Regions from separate parts of the Homo sapiens genome. Here all the other regions are linked to region 1. Evidence: promoter capture Hi-C in 16 types of primary human blood cells and fetal thymus (Javierre and others, 2016). All regions are on one chromosome and are shown on one strand. Each heading gives the region's core, a stretch centred on a gene start or on the middle of the fragment in contact. The rest is flanking DNA. Distances are from core to core; before and after follow the strand shown.

Region 1 (2,775 bases), core at 184-2,683:
ACAAAATACACGAAATTGTATTATATACTCAATTAAAATATCATCACAAACAAGCAAACTGCATCTCTGAAGTCTTTTCCATTTTTCATGCCATATTGCTGGATTTTTTATTCTAGGGTATGCTACAGGTGGGTGGATGGTCTTTTTCCTCCCTCCCATACACTCCATTTCCTTTTCTTCTTTTTCTTTTCTTTTCTTTTTTTTGAGATGGGAGTTTCGCTCTTGTTGCCCAGGCTGGAGGGCAATGGTGCGATCTCGGCTCACTGCAACCTCCGCCTCCCAGGTTCAATTCTCCTGCCTCAGCCTCCCGAGTAGCTGGAATTACAGGCGTCCACCACCATGCCCGGCGACTTTTTTGTATTTTTAGTAGAGTTGGGGTTTCACCATGTTGCCCAGGCTGGTCTTGAACTCCTGACCTCAGGTGATCCACCCGCCTCGGCCTCCCAGAGTGCTGGGATTACAGGCGTGAGCCACTGCGCCTGGCCCACTCCATTTCAACGATCTTACCCCACCGCCAGACAAAACTCATACTCATTTGTGTGATTCACGAAATATTTATTTAGTATCTACTATGTGCTACTACGTGCAGTGTTCTAAAGACCCTTGGATACATCAGGCAACAAAATTAAGAACCCTGCCTTTGAGGATCTTACATTCTGGGAGGATTGACAGACACTAACAATAAGGATACAAGCAAATCACAGAAATCCTAGAGCTGGGAAGGGAAGATGTGGACAAGTTTTTCACATCTGGAAATTTCAAATGAAGCACACTGTAAAATGTATACTAAGAATACTTTTACGGATCTTATTTATCTTGTTACCTGTTTGCCTGTCCTTTTAGGAGCACATGTCTTTTTTCCAGTCTGGGAATTTGTACAGTAATGATAATTAATAACTACCATGTACCGACATGCCTGCCGCTACCAGGCACCTTTCTGGGAGAGCCCATTAAATTCTCATGACATCCGAAAAGGCAGGTGTGATCATTCCCCTTTACAAAAGAGGACGCCGAAGTGCACACCCCGATGGGCGTCAGGGTTTCTTCCTTGCGCGCAGTGCGGATTTAGGCTAACCGACTGGATCTGGTTTATCTGAAGATGAAAAAAAAGAATGGCAAACCCACTTTCCGGATTTCTTCAAGCCGACGCGGGTGAGGTGTGCGAGCGCGCCCGGGATCCGCACTGAGTGAGGTTCCGCAGAGCCGGGAGACGGAGGAGGTGGGTCAGCCTGGGTCGCTGCCCTTGTCCAGCGCAACCCAAGACACCTGCGCGCCGGGTGGAGCCAGGGCTAGGGGTGGGGCCTGGGCTCCGGGAAGGGGGCGGGCCTGCCTTCCTCCAGTGCAAATGCGTCCTGGAGTGGTTTGTCCTACGTTGCGGCCCGTAGAGGCGCCGACTCACCGCCTCTTCTCCGGGAGTGGCGGAGATTCGATCATGTGACAGTCCGGAGGCCAGAACCGGGCAGGTTGCTTGAAGCGCAGGGGTTTGACAAAAACAAACGGTGACGGCGCCGCGGAAGGGTCTATGGCCGAGGCGGTGAAGCCCCAGCGCCGGGCCAAGGCCAAGGCCAGCCGGACTAAAACAAAGGTGAGGATCTCCCCCACCCTCCCGAGGCTCTGGCAGTGTGCTGTGTCTCCTTGCTCCTCTCTTCGGCCTCCCCAGCCAATTCTACTCCCGTTCCCTGAGCCCTCTGCATCTTCCGCCTCCACCTTCCAATATTTGATCCCACCACCCGTTGACACCGGCCCTTCTCCTCCATTCCTTCTCCATATCCCCCTGCCACACTCTGTCAGGACCCCATTTTTCCTTCTCCCTCCTGTGACTTCACTGGCCTCTTCCTTTTCTGCTCTCTTGGCTTTCCTCACCTGGGTCTGGTTTCCTGCCGTGAAATAATTTTTCTCTTTCCAGCCCCATCGTTGACTCTCTCTTTACTCTTTTATATCCTAGAACATTTTTAGTCCCTGCCATGCATAAAGAGGGAATGTTCCCCTCCTCCACGCGGAGAAGGTACCTTTGGCAGAACTTTATAAGTAGACTAGTGCTGTGCCATTTCTGATCACTTTGAAAGTTCAAGATGATAGTAGTGCTGCCTCTGTTTATTTCTTATTGTCTTGATTGTTTATAAGGGGCATGAATGGCTAGAAATTAACCCAGGGCGGGACTCACACAGTAGGGAAGTGTTTGAATTTTCTGAGTTTCCTGTATTAGACTACATGTGGTATTAGAGTGATTTTAAGTTGATTTGTTTATAAGTGCAGTCTGGATTTTCATTTTATTATAGTACATATATACACATATATACATATGTACACATATATACATATATACGTACATATATACATATGTGTGTGTGTATATATATGTATATGTATTTTTTTTTTTTTTTTTGAGACAGAGTCTTGCTCTGTCGCCCAGGCCGGAGTGCAGTGGCGCGATCTCGGCTCACTGCAAGCTCCGCCTCCCAGGTTCACGCCATTCTCCTGCCTCAGCCTCCCTCCCGAGTAGCTGGGACTACAGGCGCCTGCCACCACGCCCGGCTAATTTTTTGTATTTTTAGTAGAGACGGGGTTTCACCGTGTTAGCCAGGATGGTCTCGATCTCCTGACCTCGTGATCCGCCCGCCTCGGCCTCCCAAAGTGCTGAGATTACAGGCGTGAGCCACCGCGCCCAGCCTATGTTTTGTTTTGTTTTTGTTTTTGTTTTGATATGGAGTCTCGCTCTGTCGTCCAGGCTGGAGTGCAATCTCGGCGGAGTGCAATCTCGGCTCACCGCAACCT
Region 2 (2,775 bases), core at 201-2,700, 350 kb after region 1:
GGGTTTCATCATGTTGCCCAGACTGGTCTCAGACTCCTGAGCTCAGGCAATCCGCCCACCTTGGTCTTTCAAAGTGCTAGGATTACAGGTGTGAGCCACTGCACCCGGTCCTTATGTGACACTTCTAAAGTGGGGTGACCCTTCAATGTTCCACATATTGAGCCCTCTCATCCCATGAATAAATGGCAATTTATTTATTGCCTCTTGCATTCCATCAGTTGCAATTATTCAGCCATCGAGTTCTCCTTCAGAGCCCTCAGTCTGGATCAGCCCATTATCTCCCTTTAAGCCAGGCCCTCCCCAACGCAGGTCACCTTCTAGCTGATTTCCCTCACTTCAGTCTCCCCAGTTTTTCTCCACCTTGCCACTGGTGATGGGTAAATTATCTTAAAACATGACTTGGTCGTGCCACTGCTCAAAAACCTTCTGAGGTGCTCCATGTCTGAGTGCTTCGCTCCTGAAACTGGGCATGAAACTCTGAGCCAGAGTAGTCAATGCCCAGGGCACTGAGAAGCACAGTTTTCTGGAATGCTGATTGAGCTTGATATGAACTAATATAGAATAATAGTTGTATATTTAAGCAAACATGGTTTATAAAATAGTCAAATGCAACTCTTTATATTATTAAAATAAAATATAAAGGGAAGAAATGTAGAGTCTGCAGGTGGCTGCTTCAGGCTGTGCCCACCTATTACGTAGGGGTAATGTGTCAATTCTCCCATCAGTTGAGGCTACTTAGGGGGAGAAGTTAAAAAGCTCTGAAGATAGCAACTGTTCTCAATCTCCCTCGGTTCTACCCAGGGGTGCTCCACTTGTGCCCAAGACAATTTTCAGCTTCTCTGCAGTGTGTGCCACTGTTCTGGGCAGGTGGCCTCCTGAGGTCCCACAGCTACCTCCAATTCAGTTCCACATGCACGAATATTGATCTCCTTTACTCACACACATCCTGCTCACACACCCACCCCTAACATGGCCATGGTGCCTTCCTGGCCTCTTAGGAGCATGGTGACCTCTGCTCTGGCTTGTGTGGTGGACTATTTCACAATGTAGTAGTCTCTCTCTCTCCCTCTCTCTCTCTCTCTCTCTCTCACACACACACACACACACATACACCCCTACACATACACACATGCACACATACTTATATACACAAGCTGCCCCGAGGTGGCTCTAGGTAGTTAATTTTAGTGTTATTAGACAGTGGTGGCACAGTGGAGACAGAATACCTGGATTCAAATCCTGGCTCCCCCACTGCAATAGTCCATTCTCATACTGCTATAAAGAACTACCTGAGAGTGGGTGATTTATTAGAAAAAAAAAAAAAAGAAATTTAATTGACTCACACTTCCACATTGCTGGGGAGGCCTCAGGAAACTTACAGTCATGGTGGAAGGCGAAGGGGAAGCAAACTTGGACCTTCTCAAATGGCGGCAGAAGAGAGAGATGGTGTGGAGCAGGAACTTGCCAAACACTTATAAAACCATCAGATCTTGTGAGAATTCACTCACTATCACGAGAACAGCATGGGGGAAACCGCTCCCATGATCCAGTCACCTTGCCCTGGGTCCTGCCCTCAACATATGGGGATTACTGGGATTACAATTTGAGATGATATTCAGGTGTGGACACAGAGCCAAACCATATCATTCTGCCCCTGGCCCCTCCCAGATATTATGTTCTTTATACATTTCAAAACAAAATTGTGCCTTAGCAACAGTCCCCCAAAGTCTTAACTTATTCCAGTATTAACTTGAAAGTCAAAGTCCAAAGTTTCATCTGAGGCAAGGCAAGTCCCTTCCACCTATGAGCCAGTAAAATCAAAAGCAAATGGCCGGGTGCGGCGGCCCACGCCTGTAATCCCAGCACTTTGAGAGGCCGAGTCGGGTGGATCACTTGACGTCAGAAGTTCGAGACCAGCCTGGCCAATGTGGTGAAACCCTGTCTCTACTAAAAATACAAAAATTAGCAGGGTGTGGTGGCACACACTTGTAGTCCTAGCTACTGGGAGGCTGAGACAGAAGAATCTCTTGAACCTGGGAGGTGGAGGTTGCAGTGAGCCAAGATAGTGCCAATGTACTCCAGCCTGGGTGACAGAGCAAACTGTGTCTCAAAAAAAAAAAAAAAAAAAAAAGCAAGTTAGTTACTTCCAAGATACAGTGGGGGTGCAGGAGGCATTGGATAAATGCTCCCATTTCAAATGGGAGAAATTGGCCAAAACAAAGGGCTACAGGCCCCACGCAAGTCCAAAATCCAGTGGTGCAGTCATTAAATCTTAAATCTCAAAAATAATCTCCTTTGACTCCATGTCTCATATCCAGGTCATGCTGATGCAAGAGGTGGGCTCCCACAGACTCAGGCAGCTCTGCTTCTGTGGCTTTGCAGGGTATAGCTCTCCTCCTGCTGCTTTCGCAGGCTGGTGTTGAGTGTCTGTGGCTCTTCCAGGTGCAGAGTGCAAGCTGACAGTGGATTTACCATTCTGGGGTCTGGAGTACGGTGGTCCTCTTCTCACAGCTCCACTAGGCAGTCCTCCAGTGGGGACTCTGTGTGGGGGCTCCAACTTCACATTTCCCTTCTGCACTGCCCTAGCAGAGGTTCTCTATGAGGTCTCTACCCCTGCAGCAAACTTTTGCCTGGACATCCTGGCGTTTCATACATCCTCTGAAATCTAAGTGGAGGTTCCCAAACCTCAATTCTTGACTTCTGTGCACCTGCAGGCTCAACACCACATGGAAGCCGCCATGGGTTGAGGCTTGCACCCTCTGAAGCAATGGCCTG
Region 3 (2,775 bases), core at 90-2,589, 330 kb after region 1:
TTCTTATCATTTAGGCGACAGCTCAAATGTCCCCTCTGCAAAGTTGTCTTCCCTGAGCACACATGTCTGGAATCATTTGCTGTCCCATTTAGCCTCTCTTGCTTTCCTCAAAGCACTTATCACATCTTGAAATGATCCCTTTTATTAACTAGTTTATGAGTTTATTTCTGTCTTAGCCAAGAAGAATGTCAGTTCCAAGGGAATAGAGACTTTTCCTTGTTTACAAATATTCCCAGCATCTAGGGTCAACCTTTCACTCAACAAATAGTTCAGGCACTCAACAGATATTTGTTTATTGAATGAATCTGGAAAATGGCACTACAAATACCTACCCTATGACTTGAATTTCAGGGTCCCCATAAATGGATTGATGAATGCACTGGAGTAGTAGCACAGAGCCCAGGGTGGGGTGCTCAGTGTTTTTTTGTCCTTTAAATTGGGAAGTGGGATGGGGGGCACTGAAGTCTAATTGCCAGCCAGTGCAATGTGGTTGAGGAGCTGTGTTGAGGGGCTTAATCTATGTAGTTTTAAACCAAATGTATTGCAAATGAGGGCAAGTTCTCCTTTTCACAGGCAGGAACGTGGGGGGCATTAAGAAAATCCACATAGAAATGACTGTCTTGGCTTTTTGTCCCAATGGATTAAGAACGAAACCCTAAGAGGAAAACTAAATTGCCCAGAATCCTTAATGTAGTAATTTATTTGCAAGCACTACTAAAAAGTAATAAAAGAGTAGTTAAGCTAAATTAAACTAGCTGGTTTTAGTAACTGCAGACTTTGAAACCAAGGAAAGACATTTACTTCTTAGAGATGTTAAAAGTAAATCATCCTGTCTGATTTATTGCTGACAATAAGAATAAATCACACTGTTTGAGGGAAGTTGAGAACAGGGTGGTATACACATGTGAAGTCAGGGTCTGGGGGACAAAGGTTCACCATGACAGTGAGCACACTGCAGAGACCCCAAGATGCTTGATAGACCTGCTGTAAATTTACGTGAACTAAGAATCATTGTGTGAATGGCCCAGCACACCCTTCGCTAGGTGAATATTTGTTCCTAACTCCCTTTCATGGTGACCTTCTTATTTCATCTAGAATATGAGGTGATTGCCCAGCAAGATCTCAACCGATACTTCCAGTTCAAAGGTTCTATGCTTTACATATAAATATTCTGTTCCAAGAAAGCTCTCTGCTTCTATCACAAGCAGGTTTTCAGCTTTTAGGTCTTGGTTACGTCACATAATAGACAATTCCCATGCAACCTGGGGTTTAATAGTGCAGATTGGATTTGGAATGCCAGCATCAAAAACTACCACAAAGTACAACTTGGGGCAAGTGACTTAATCTCTGCATGCCTTGGTCTTCCCTTCCATAAACTGATGGCAAATGTAGCCATACTTAGCACTGCATAAGCCCTGCTTAGCACTGTGTCAAGCATGTAGGAATAACTTAGGAAATGCTGACTTTTATTACTAAGAATGTCGTTCAGGAAGATTACCATTGCAATAAAAAAAATGTTGTCTTTTGTTGGTTTAAAGAATCCTCCTGGCTGGGCATGGTGGCTCACGCCTGTAATCCCAGCACTTTGGGAGGCCGAGGCAGGTGGATCACGAGGTCAGGAGATCGAGACCATCCTGGCTAACACAGTGAAACCCTGTCTCTACTAAAAATACAAAAAATTAGCTGGGCGTGGTGGCGGGTGCCTGTAGTCCCAGCTACTTGTGTGGCTGAGGCAGGAGAATGGTGTGAACCCAGGAGGTGGAGCTTGCAGTGAGCCGAGATTGCGCCACTGCACTCCAGCCTGGACGACAGAGCAAGACTCTGTGTCAAACAAACAAAAAACAAAAGAATCCTCCTTATTCCATATCTCCAAATGACCCCCTTGTGTTACAAGAGAACTCATGGGCTTTCATGGTGTCAGACAAGCTAACTTGGCTATGAAGGGGCTGGGTCCCACATGTGTATGTCCTGTCTCTGGCCAGTATAAGACACAAGTGTCTTGGGGGCCCCATGGAGCTGTGAGCAGAAAAAATGAGGTGCCTCACCAGGACATGGCTGTGAAGGTCACAGGAAACAGAAGCCACCAGTAGTAGTCTAACTTCTCCGAGAACACGGCCATCAGCAGTCCCACCAGCATCCCGTTGTACCCATGGAGTCCTGAGGCAATGGCAGACCTGGCGGTGAAACAGACTGATTTTGCATTTGAAGTTGGTGGTGTTACTGGGCCCCTCCCTCCTGGTGCTCTGAGGATATGCTTAATTTAGATGATTCCTTTAATAATAATGCTTAGAAAAAAGTCAGTTCGCTCAATGAATATTGGGCAGTCACATAGCTGCCAGCACCTTTCCTGATAACACACACACACACACACACACACAAACACACACACACACACCCTTGTCTTGCTGATCGACAATTAAAATTATGCACTTTGTCTGTGGTTAAGCTCTTCTTTATCAGGGGAGACTTAGACTGCTAAATATAGAGGGAATATAATAGAAACCTGAGGTGTGACACAAGGAAGTTGTGTGTGGGAGTGAGGGAGAGAGAAGAGAGGGAAGGAGAAAGAGTGTTATGATTACATTGTGTAAAGTTCTCTGTAGTTGGCCAGGCTCAGTGGCTCATGCCTGTAATCCCTGCACTTTGGGAGTCCAAGGTGGGAAGATGACTTGCACCCAGGAGTTCAACCAGCCTGGGCAACATGGTGAAACCCCATCTCTGCTAAAATACAAAAATTAGCCAGGCGTGATAGTGCATGCCTGTAGTCCCAGCTAC
Region 4 (2,775 bases), core at 141-2,640, 320 kb after region 1:
GGAACTGTTGAAGAGGGGTCCTAATCACGAGGGCCTTGTGAGGAAGGAAAGCAAACAAAGGGGGTGGGAGGAGCCCAGCAGGCCCCCACATTCCAAGGAGTGGTGGGGAATGGTGTGGAGGGGAGGTCGGTCGCCTGCATGGAGGCCTGTCCTTGTGTTGCTAGTTCAGGATCCATGGCTATCTGCTGGTTAACACGGAGCCTTCACGTTTTTCTTGTCCCTGCTGGCTGGTCTGTTGGCTCAGTCCTTGCTGCTGTCCCTTGTTCTCTTGCCCTGGCTTCTCCCAAGGGCTCCTGAACTTCTTGAGATGCGCTCACTCCAGCTACCTAAGCATCCACCTATTCCAGACATAACAGGGAGCCACCTGTGAGCAATATGTCATTAATTTGAAAAGACAGGAAATGACTGCTTAAGAAGGCTTTCAGGAAGTTCATACACATTCCATTAGCCAAATGGAACTGTGGTTCTTCAAGATGTAGTGAGTATCTGTCACAAACACTAGACTCAGGGTGGGGCAATAAAGTGCTGCCTTGGAAAGCAGAAGGCCAAGATATAATCTTGTCCCCTTGACTAGAGCTAGATAAAGGCTAGAGCTCAGATACCAAGGGCTCTTCAAGAGATCAATTTGTGCCTACACTCTTTATTTGAAGGCTCAATTGAAATTCGCTTCAGAACAAGGTTTTCTTCACAATGCTCGTGGCTTCCTTCAATTCTACGTTTTCAACTTTACAGAGGGAGGAGGCCTGCATTGACCACCAGGAGCTAAACTTGGGAAGGTCAGATCCTCCAAGGGAAAGGGCCCAAGTCCATGTGGAATAAATGCAAGCTGGAGCTGGAAGTTCTCCAAAGGGCTGCTTACTTTGCTTCATTCTGCTCTAGCAGCCTGTGCAGCGGTAGAAGGGGGTTGGGAGGTCCTTGTTATCAATTTGCAGAGGGTTAAAAAGGACTTGTCATTTTCCCCCTTGCCCCCTTCTTGGGGTCTTGGAATTTCTAGTTCCACTTGGGGTAGAAGGGCTCCCTGTGTATTCTTTCATCTTCTCTGAATGGCTAGAGACAGGAAAAACCAGGCAAGTAAAAAAAGTCTCACATAAAATGTGAATGCCTTTAAAGTTACCAGATGAGACCATGGTTTATTGAGTAGAAATCATGCCCATACTGAAACTGCCAGCCCCCACCTGGTTTTAGATTAGAGCTGTCCTCAGGCCATCAAAACCTTTATGACCCAAGAAAACAAAGTTTAGGCTCATACAGGAAAGCATAAACAAATGTTCCACGATGTTTGCACACTGGTCTGATATAACCACAAACTCAGGCTGCGAAGACAGTTTCCTGACAGGCAGATCTTAGAGGGTTGACCAGAAAGAGAGTCCCTTCAGAGAGGAGAGTGATGGGAAGGAGAAAGTCAATGCCAAGGAGAGTTGAATAATGTTGGTCCCCAGCTTTTGTCCATGTAAGCAACCATGTTGAGCATTTTGGTAAAGTGGCCAAATGGCTAACTGGTTAAGCTCTAGAAAAGTAGCAAAGGCACTTGTGGCATATTTTTGGTACACATGGTCTTCATGTTCTTACCTTTTTACCACCTCGGCGATAACTCCTCTTTATTCCTCCATGGGAACTCAGGGCCATAGAATCACAGAACGTTGGGAATTGGAAAAGAGAGGCCGCAGTGGTAATCCGGTCTGGTTACCCACCCCAAACAAGCATCTCCAACCGGCCTCCACACCCTGCTCCTGCACTATCAGGGCAGAAATCTTAGGACCTTATAGGACATTATCTCTCAAGCAACTTCCATTGTTAAAAAGTGCCTTTCTCCACTGATTCAAAGTCCATTTGCTTATCACTCGTACCTAGTGCACTCCCTCTGTGCTCTGGAGAAACACTGAACAAGTTGACTTCTCCCACATGCATTACCTAATACTGCAGACACACACGGCTGCAGCTCTTTCATCTCTTCTCCAAGCCAAACACAACCAGCTTCATCATCCCCTGTGAGATGATGGTGCTCCAGACCCTCATCCATCCAGCTTGGCCTCATCTTGGCATGCCCTCCTTTGCCAAAGACCCTCTCGAAATGTGCCACCCATTTTTCTTTGTACTCTTTCTTCCCCTTTCATCAGAACTGTTCTCAGAAATGGCTCCTTTGGCCTAAGATACAAATGATTGATCATGTTTACTGTGGTACCTTCTCAGGACTGTTTACAGTTGAACAGATTCAAAGCCTTAAGTTGAAGGAATGGCTGGGAATGCTTGGGCTGCAGGTAATGGAAAGATAGGGGATACAAGGGGACAAGGCACTGAAATCTTCCTGGAACCCTTAAAATCATGCCTAAAACACTTTTTAAACAGAAGATCAGCCTGACAAGGTCAGGAGCTCAAGACCAGCCCGGCCAACATGGTGAAACCCCATCTTTGCTAAAAATAAAAAAAAAGCTGGGCATGGTGGTGGGTGCCTGTAATGCCAGCTACTCAAGAGGCTGAGGCAGGAGAATCGCTTGAACCTGGGAGGTGGAGGTTTCAGTGAGCCGAGATCGTGCCATTGCACTCCAGCCTGGGCAACAAGAACAAAACTCCGTCTCAAAAACAAAACAAAACAAGACAAAAAAACCCAAAACACCTGTGGTGCTGTGAATTTCAGTGGGCTCAGGCAGTCCGCATCCTCATCTTCACCTCAGGTGAGACTATTCACCTGGCCAGGTAAATTCCCATAAAATGAATTCCTTGAAGGCAGGAGCTGGTCTGATTCTTTCCTGGTTTGTTGTCAATCCTGGGGCCTGA
Region 5 (2,775 bases), core at 97-2,596, 290 kb after region 1:
AAGCTTGAGGAAGACTAGACATGCCCAGTGCCTTGTCGTGTAGGCTCTGCAGAAGGCATGACGAGGCTGGCCACTGGGAATGAGCCCAGTGCTGGCAACAGGGGAGAAGCTATTAAAATGTACTAGTGTAATTGGCCTTTGCTTCCAAACCCTTCATTTCTCGCTGAGAGCATCCCAATTGTCCTTAGGATTATATTAACAAGAGTTAACCTTTATTAGTGTGTTATTGTGTGCCCAGCTAGTAGCAATACTACCATAGCTTTCAGCATTCCTACAGTGTAAGCACTATTATCGTCTTCATTTCACACATGAGAAAACTGAGGCTCAGAGAGGTGAAATAATATGACTGTTCAGCCTATATTTCAGTTGGAGAAGCCCCTTTTGTTTTGGAGGGGAGATTCAAGGTGGAAGAGTAGATGAGATTAAAGAATGAGTTACACGACTGGGAGTGGCGGCTCACGTCTGTAATCCCAGCACTTTGGGAGGCTGAGATGGGAGGATCACTTGAGCCCAGGAGTTTGAGACCAGTCTGGGCAACAAAGCAAGATACCATCTCTACAGAAACCAAAAACATTAGCTGGGTGTGGTGGCATGTGCCTGTAATCTCAGCTACTTGGGAGGCTGAGGCAGGAGGATGGCTTGAGCCCGGAAGTTTGAGGCTGCAATGAACTATGATCATGCTACTTACTGTGATCTAGCCTGGGTGACAGAGCAAGACCTCATCTCAAAAAACAAACAACAAACAAACAAACAAAAGAGAATGAGTTAAATGAGTTACATGAAGTAGAATGTGGGGCTGTCAATGGGTTTCATGGGTCACACCAGGCAGCTTATTCTCTGAGAGCGAATAGGAGCCCATGCCGTCCTTTGTGTTTGCTGAATCCTCATTAATTAACATACATCATTTAACTAGAGATAATAGAGGTCAGCACTTACTGGACATTCCCTATGTGTCAGCATTATTCTCATCATTTTCACAAATGATCTAATTTGATCCTGACAACAGCTGTAGGAGTTGGGCACTGTTAGTATCAGGCATGGAGAGTTCAAGCAACTTGCCCAGGATTACATGGCTAACAAGTGGCGGAGCTCCAGCCATCTGGCTCTGGGAGTGGGCTCTTAATCAGCCTCTCAGATCTGAGGTTGGAAAGAGAGAGGCAAACCAAGCACTACCAAGGCCCCCGAATAGAGGGGAGCCAGATGGCCTGAGTGGGACTCTGGGCTTGGTCTGTGAAGAATGGAAGACTCCAACTCCATCCATCTTCCCTGGGACCCAGAGCCAAAGGATTCATTCTGTCTCCCTCTTCCCCCACTGATATTTGCTATTTTATCAAATCTGGTGTTATTACTAGCAGGAAAACCCTCCGAAAACCCCGTGTGGGCTCCTGTGTGGCTATAGGGCTTGCAGAGTCGGGAGAGAGGAGGAAGGATAGAAGAAAGAAGACGAAATGAGACATGCGGCCTGCCTGGGCTGGAGGGAAAACTGTCTGTCTCAGGTGATGTGCCGAGCAGGCAGTGGTGGAAGGAACCTTTGCAACAGGATGCCTGGCCACCTGGCCTGTCTTATCCATCACTGACTGTATGATGTTGGAAAAGGGCCTAACTGTTCTGGGCTTGGATTTTTTTACTGGTAGAAAAAGCACTGGCTTCAGGAAACAGTGTGGTGTCCTGCAAAGAGCACAGCCTTTTACAGTCAGGCAGACCTGACTTCAAGTAATGTATTTAGCTTCCTTTAGCCTCATTTCTCCATCTGTGAAATGGGGATATTAATATCATCCACACACTTTATGGGGCTGGAGGGAAGATTAAATGAGATGACCTGTACCAAGGTTTCACAGCTCCAGCTCCATGGACACTTTGGATGGGGCAATTCCTTATTCTGGGGGTGCCGTCCTGTGTATTGTAGGGTGTTTAACAGCGTCTCTGGATTTTACCCATTAGATGCCAGTAGCACTTCCCCCAGCCTCAGGTATGACACAGAAAAATGTCATCAGACATTGCCAAATGTTCCTGGGGAAGGGGAAAATTACCCCTGGTTGAAAACCACCCGTGTAACATCTGACATAAATTGGGCATTTAAGATTTGTTTGTTAAACATGAATATCCCTTAGTGAATAAGTAGAACTTGGAGTTGGTAGCCAGGGATATCCTGTAATGTCCTTTCCCAGCTGGTATCCTAGATGTCCTTGTCCTCTGAGACTCTGGACAGAAGTTATAGCTCCACGGTCTGGACGCAGCCACCTCCCCACCGGGCCACCTGCTCCGATCCTATGTGGAAGTCATGGGCCACTAAGAGAGCCTAGAGTGGCACAGTCTTGACTCTGAATCTTTAAAAACTTCAGGACTCCTTGACTTCTCATTTCTAGCATTCAGACTTTTAATTTTTAATGGGATGAGGCCCAAACCAATTTAATAATATAAATGACGACTGATTTTAAAGATCTCTGAGCATTTAGAATTTTTGCCATTGGGACATTTTTATGGAAGGAAGGAACTTAGGCATAGGTCTAGTTTCAGGTCATGTAAAAATGCTGGCCTATTAAGAAGTTAAAGTTAATTTAAATTAAAATATTCACAGTGACATTTAATTCCAGTGGGGCTGTTCTGTCTGCTGAAGGAGCTATCATTCCCTCCTGCTCTCACTGCCTCCTGGTTGCCTATCAATGGGCCCTACGCACAAGTAAGCTTGACTACGTGTTCCAGGTTTTCTAGATGGCCTCAACTTCTTCTTTTCATTGAACCTGTACAAACATTTGTTTGTGAGGCTGAGTGGGC

The links. The method cuts DNA at HindIII sites, captures the fragments that hold promoters and counts their contacts. A CHiCAGO score of 5 or more calls a contact.
Region 2: the fragment with the promoter of SLC14A2 here is called in contact with the fragment with the promoter of EPG5 in region 1 in 1 of 17 cell types (total CD4 T cells); the score reaches 5.5 in total CD4 T cells.
Region 3: a fragment that was not itself captured here is called in contact with the fragment with the promoter of EPG5 in region 1 in 1 of 17 cell types (naive CD8 T cells); the score reaches 5.8 in naive CD8 T cells.
Region 4: a contact is called between a fragment that was not itself captured here and the fragment with the promoter of EPG5 in region 1, in 1 of 17 cell types (total CD4 T cells). The highest score is 5.0, in total CD4 T cells.
Region 5: a fragment that was not itself captured here is called in contact with the fragment with the promoter of EPG5 in region 1 in 15 of 17 cell types (activated CD4 T cells, non-activated CD4 T cells, naive CD8 T cells and 12 more); the score reaches 14.8 in activated CD4 T cells.

What each region holds. Positions count from the first base shown.
Region 1 is chr18:45,965,987-45,968,761 of GRCh38, reverse strand. It overlaps EPG5 (ectopic P-granules 5 autophagy tethering factor), which reads left to right and starts at 1,433. Exons shown (of 44, transcript NM_020964.3): 1 at 1,433-1,585. The coding sequence starts at 1,523. RefSeq lists an enhancer at 1,173-1,674. The HindIII fragment of the contact is 12,390 bases long and covers 1-2,775 here.
Region 2 is chr18:45,614,151-45,616,925 of GRCh38, reverse strand. It overlaps SLC14A2 (solute carrier family 14 member 2), which reads right to left and starts at 1,450. Exons shown (of 20, transcript NM_007163.4): 1 at 1,344-1,450. All of the region lies in intron 8 of LOC105372093 (a long non-coding RNA gene), which reads left to right. The HindIII fragment of the contact is 14,354 bases long and covers 1-2,775 here.
Region 3 is chr18:45,631,749-45,634,523 of GRCh38, reverse strand. SLC14A2 (solute carrier family 14 member 2) reads right to left here. Exons shown (of 20, transcript NM_007163.4): 5 at 2,046-2,174. All of the region lies in intron 8 of LOC105372093 (a long non-coding RNA gene), which reads left to right. Among named protein-coding and RNA genes, the nearest start is that of SLC14A2, 18 kb to the right of the region's middle. The HindIII fragment of the contact is 4,158 bases long and covers 1-2,775 here.
Region 4 is chr18:45,650,558-45,653,332 of GRCh38, reverse strand. All of the region lies in intron 10 of SLC14A2 (solute carrier family 14 member 2), which reads right to left. All of the region lies in intron 7 of LOC105372093 (a long non-coding RNA gene), which reads left to right. Among named protein-coding and RNA genes, the nearest start is that of SLC14A2, 36 kb to the right of the region's middle. The HindIII fragment of the contact is 3,101 bases long and covers 1-2,775 here.
Region 5 is chr18:45,675,784-45,678,558 of GRCh38, reverse strand. The region is part of intron 18 of SLC14A2 (solute carrier family 14 member 2); the gene reads right to left. The region is part of intron 7 of LOC105372093 (a long non-coding RNA gene); the gene reads left to right. Among named protein-coding and RNA genes, the nearest start is that of SLC14A1, 47 kb to the left of the region's middle. The HindIII fragment of the contact is 2,682 bases long and covers 6-2,687 here.